Regions from separate parts of the Homo sapiens genome. Here region 2 is linked to region 1. The links are contacts of gene promoters, found by promoter capture Hi-C in human tissues and cell types (Jung and others, 2019). All regions are on one chromosome and are shown on one strand. Each heading gives the region's core, a stretch centred on a gene start or on the middle of the fragment in contact. The rest is flanking DNA. Distances are from core to core; before and after follow the strand shown. Region 1 holds the start of MB21D2 (Mab-21 domain containing 2). Region 2 holds the start of LINC00887 (long intergenic non-protein coding RNA 887).

Evidence for each region. Contacts are between HindIII fragments. The study calls those that stand out against the background at their distance.
Region 2: a contact is called between a fragment that was not itself captured here and the fragment with the promoter of MB21D2 in region 1, in 1 of the 25 tissues and cell types used here (dorsolateral prefrontal cortex).

The regions. Positions count from the first base shown.
Region 1 is chr3:192,916,558-192,919,160 of GRCh38, forward strand. MB21D2 (Mab-21 domain containing 2) reads right to left here and starts at 1,299. Exons shown (of 2, transcript NM_178496.4): 1 at 1,073-1,299. The coding sequence starts at 1,283. RefSeq lists an enhancer at 265-594 and a silencer at 1,245-1,604. The HindIII fragment of the contact is 14,649 bases long and covers 1-2,603 here.
Region 2 is chr3:194,311,906-194,314,508 of GRCh38, forward strand. It overlaps LINC00887 (long intergenic non-protein coding RNA 887), which reads right to left and starts at 899. Exons shown (of 3, transcript NR_024480.1): 1 at 696-899. The HindIII fragment of the contact is 5,116 bases long and covers 1-2,603 here.

The DNA.
Region 1 (2,603 bases), core at 49-2,548:
TTCGGAATGTTGACCGCCGGCCACGCACCGCTTGACAGCCACGGATCCGCTGGCGGAGCCGCAAGTTACAACCCAGGCGCCTGGCAAACTCACACTACACCTCAGTAGCAATAATCCCAACGGCAGGACACCTGGGGAGGGTGGGCTCGGTCTCCCGGGCCTGGCTCAATTATGTTCCTTTACACAGCATTCAATCATGTTTCAGGAGCCGTAGGTGAGGGGCTGGAGGTGGGAGTGGGGGACACATTTTCTAGCCCCCGACGTCTCCGCGGTTGGAAACTCTGGGCACCTCTTTCGGCCAGCGCTAAGACAATACACAAAGAGCAGGGAACCGGCGCTCCTCTGCGGCCAGAGCTCCGCGCCTAGTCACGGAAGAGCTGGGAATTAAGAATTCCGAGCTCAGCGAGAGCCCTGAAGAAGCACCGGAAATGCTTCCGATCGCTTCATAAGAGAAGTCAATTTGCAAATCAAAGTTGCAGGAACTCCGGACGCCTAGACTACTTCAGCGGGTTACTCGGGAACACCCAACAAGTTTGGCCACCGGGGGCTCGGCATGACAGCGCCGCGCCGCGAGACGACAGAAGCAACTTGTCGCTCGGGCGCCAAGCCAGAGCCCTGAGCCGTCTCCGCTCCCAAGCTCGGGAGAGCACCCAAGAGCCGGCGTCGGGAAAGCGGAGGTCCCTGCCTCCGGCAGCCAAATCCCTCAACTGAAGGCACCTCAGGGGCTCACCTGGACTGCACTCGCTTCCAGGGGCTTCCCCCAACAGTGCAACGCTTCACCGCGAACGCCTCACCTGCCTGCCAGCCCCAGGTGGCGGAGAAATTAACAAAAGAGCAAGCGAACAGGGGGAAAGGGAGACCCGGCGTAAAGTATAGTAAGGAGGGGAGGGCAGGCAGCTCGGCTTTCGGCGGAGAAAGAAGAGAGAGGCGGAACAGAGATGGCTTATACCCAAGGCACCGGCTCGGGAAGGCAACCCAGAAGGGAAGAGGTCGAGAAGCGGCAATGGGTTTTCTACTCCGCTTCCCATCACACACACACACGCACACACACCTCCCCCTTTTTCCTCCTTACCCAGCATGGAAAAGATGAAATCCTTGGCTGTGTGAATCTCCAGCGCTCTCTGGTCGTCGTATTCCCGCTGGTCGTGCTTCGTAAATTCTTGGATGAGTTTGTTCAATTCCTCCACCCGAGCTCCCGACCTGAAATCCAGCTCCGGGAACGCAGGCTTGTTGTTACAGCCCAGGGAGGCTGCCTTGTTGGCGGTGGGAGCCGCCATCTTCATGCAAAACGCGCCGAGTAGCAGCTCCGCGGCAGCGCGGCACCCACCCCCGCCCCCCACCCCGCCCCCCTGGGCCTCCTCCCCTCGCAGGCTCCCAGGCTTTGGCCCCGGCTCGTGGGCGGGTTGGCGGGCGGGCGTCTGGGCGGGCAGTCCCCCGCTCCGTGCGCTCTGGGCGTGCGAGCTTCGGGAGGAGCTGGACTGCAGCGAGGGTGCGTGTGTGGCCCCGACACCCTTTTCTCCGGCCCCACGCCCGCCCCGATGCTGCGCGTCCCTGCCCTGCCCTGGCCCTCTCTGGCAGCGGCAACGGCGGTCGTAGAGCCAACTGGAGCCTCCCCCGGGCGAGGAAAGTGAAGTGGAAACAATGTGAAATTCACCAGCTCTGAAATCAACAAGCTGCCGGCTCCGGTGTTACGGAGCCAGCACCAGCGTCTCCATTTAAAGGGACAGCGCACCCAGTGGAAAGGAAAATAAATAAATGACAGAGGTCTGCACGCATATACCACTTGCCAATCCGTACTTGGGAAGACGCGCGAGGTGTGGATGCATTCTTTCTCCACCTCCACGGCCGTCCCCCCATCCCCTTTCTGGGCAGGGTTTGCCAAGCGCATTCAAGGAGAAGAAAGTCTTCCTCCGTTTGATTTTAAGGGCGGTGTCCTGGGGGAGGACATCTCTGTGCGCGTTTACCTCTCTATCCCAAGAACTCCAATACCTTTAAATAGTAAAGGAAACTGCCTTAAGGAATATGAAACCTGTCTTCTACCCTTTTCCTCTTGGATTGCCAAGATGATAGGATTGAGCGTATAAAAAAAGAGGGTCCACATCTAACCCAGTATTGGCACTCCCACTAACCCCTAGATATCCCTACCTTTGCCCAAGGTAATTAATGACCTGAATAACAGCTTATTTATCTTAACATATAATGAGTTAATGAGATTCAACCTACTCTAATATAAAGATAGGGAAACTGAAGTGTGGGTGTGGGAGAGGGGAAACAATGTATTGCCCCAGGTTCCAAGAAATGTTGGATGACAAGATGAAAATTTTCTCATTCAACAGATAAAATTTGAGTACGCACCATTTGCCAGATGGAGTGACAGAATGTGACAGTGATAACCAAAAGACATGGCTCCTACCATGGAGTTAGGCTTACATGACAAGGCAGGTTCAATCTAAGTCATAGTCCTTTAGGCAGAATAGAGTCTCAGAGGTGGTTTTAGTGTTTATGGGGTGTATCATTCAAACACTTAGGAGGCCCATTGGCTGTGAGAAACATAGGTTATCTTCCTCCCTAATTCTCCAAAATCTCTCTTCTCTATCCCACAG
Region 2 (2,603 bases), core at 55-2,554, 1.4 Mb after region 1:
AGTCTCAGTCCAAATGTCACCTGTGTAAGGTTTATCCTGACCACTCTATCTAAAATTGCAACACACATACAACCTCGTCACTCCCCAGCACCTCACCCTGCTCTCCTTTTCCCCCTAGTGCTCTCACCTGTTAGATATTGACTTGTTTCTTTTTAATTTTTTTTTTTTTGAGACAGGGTCTCTCTCTGTCGCCCAGGCTGGAGTGCAGTGGCACAATTACGGCTCACTGCAGTGTCAACCTCCTGGGCTAAGACAATCCTCCTACCTCAGGCTCTCAAGCAGTTGGGGCTACAGGTGCACCACCACACTCAGCTAATTTTTGTATATTTTGGTAGAGATGTGGTTTCACCATGTTGCCCAGGCTGGTCTCGAACTCCTGGGCTCAAGTGATCCTTCCACCTCAGACTCCCAAAGTGTTGGGATTACAAGCATGAGCCACAGCACCCGGCTGACTTATTGCTTATACTTGTTTGTTCTTGGCCTCCTTTGGCCAGGACCTGTCTTCCTCATTGCTGAATCCCATGAGCCTGGAGCCATGCCTAGGTCAGTAACTCCCTGTTGAAAACAACAGAGACTGAAGGAAGAAGTAACTATAATTAATGCAGGTGGTTCGAGATGCACACTTGGAGAAACACTGCTCCAAGAGCATGAAGTTGGCACCAGCCTGACGGGGGTTGGGTCCCAGCTCTACCCACCTGCTGTGTGACTTCAGACAATTTCAGCCTCCTGCGCATCAGTTCTCTCTCATCTGTGAAATGGAGACAATCCTTCTATCTTAGGGCTGCAACACAAGGATCCAGTAATATAACCAGGCACAGAGCAGGACGCTGCAGCGATACTCCCTCCCTTATCTTCTGGGTGGAATTTTGCAAGCAACGGTGTCTGAGCAGAAAATGAATCTGAAGCCTCCCAGGGGGGAGGGAGCACATTCTGTTTCTCATCAGGCGGAGAGGCGGGGAGGAAGAGTGAATGGAGGTCACCCATCGAGGGGAGTGTATAAGTCATCCCTGCCGGCTACCTCTGCAGCTCACAGGACACACGTTCACCTCCCTCCCTCCCTCCTTCCCTTCCCACCAGCAGAAATGAACAAGCAGTTTCTCTGAGTAAACAGATGATAAATCACTGGCTAGAATCAGTACTCCCGCCAAAGCAGCATCATTGGAGATCTCAGGCAGAGCAAGCGCACGTGCTTGGGGACTGCAATTTGGGTTTAGAGGCAGCCCTGCCAGGCCTGCACACTGCCGGGTGAGCATTCCTCCCCAAACAGCCCAGCCCGCTTCCCCGGGGCTCTTGGAGTAAGTCCCGCAGACTCTTGCCAGCCCCACCTGGAAGGACTTAAGCTCCAGCGTGGGGGATGCGGGTGAGATGGGAACGAGGATTTCCTGACAGCGATCCTGGAATGGGTGACTGAGCTTATAGACTTTTTCTCTGAGTTTTATGAAGCAGATAGGATTTGGAGGTAAAGAGACAAAATAAAAAATGTCTACACACACACACACACACACACACACACACACACACACACACACACAAAGACAAACACATTATACACCCCAAAGAGAGGAAAAGAGAACAGCCCCTGCAGAGGGGGATCAGGGCATCTGTCCACATGGATGTCAGGACAGTGGCGGGGACACACAATCCAGAGTCCAGAGCCCACGTCCAAGCTCCAGCTCCACCACTCACTGTCCAGTGACCTTGGACCAGTCTCTCTCCCAGCCTCCTCTCGGGGTTTCTTCCTCTTGAAGCACGAGCATGCATCCCTGATGCTCCCTGAGCTGATGTTTCATGGGTCTCTGATTTCCAGTTGGGCCCTGGCCAGGCGCATTGCGGAGGCAGTAGGGAAACTTGCCCAAATGTGTGGCCACCCCAATCTTCTTGGCCAGCCCCCAGCCCCAGCTGAGATCCAATTCAAAGCTTGGACCTTTACTTTCAGAGTCTACGATGGAAGGAGCAGGATTCGTACTGACGTCCCACACCTTTTTCCTGGCTTTCTGTCCCCGGTGGAGGCTCTGTGCCTGGCAGGCTAAACGCCCTCTGAGCTCTTAGAGGCAGTTTCCACCCTCAGCCCCTGCCCCAGCTGTGACAGCCTCAGGGTCAGGCTGAGCCCTGGAACCGTATCTGCTCATCTGGATTCAAGGAGAGACTACTGTTCTTCAAAGTAACCCCACTCCCGGTGGAACCCAGCCGCCACTCCCACAGGGCTGTCCAAAGTATCCCACTAGAGACCCCAGCAGGAGCTTCTGAGGAATTAGCGTGGAAAGGGATCTGCCAGGGTCTGGTTGTGTGACCTTGAGCAAGTCCCTTACCCTCTCTGGGTCTCAATTTCCCCACCTGGCTGGGCTGGCTCTGTGCCATCTGCCCAATGCCCTGTCTGGCCGCTGGCAGCCTCTCCCTCCCTGGGGCTGTAGGGAATGCTCCCCTCACTGGCCAGCCAGGGGTGGGGTTCAAATGGGGGAAGCCAGGAGCAACCCTTGCAGTCAGGGCTCCAGGCAGGAATCAGAAGAGAAGCCTCCGCCTCTTCTCCCCAGCAACATCTCTTCCCATCTTAGAATTATGGGCTGGCAAAGCCAGGGAGGCTATCAGGCATCATCCAAACCATT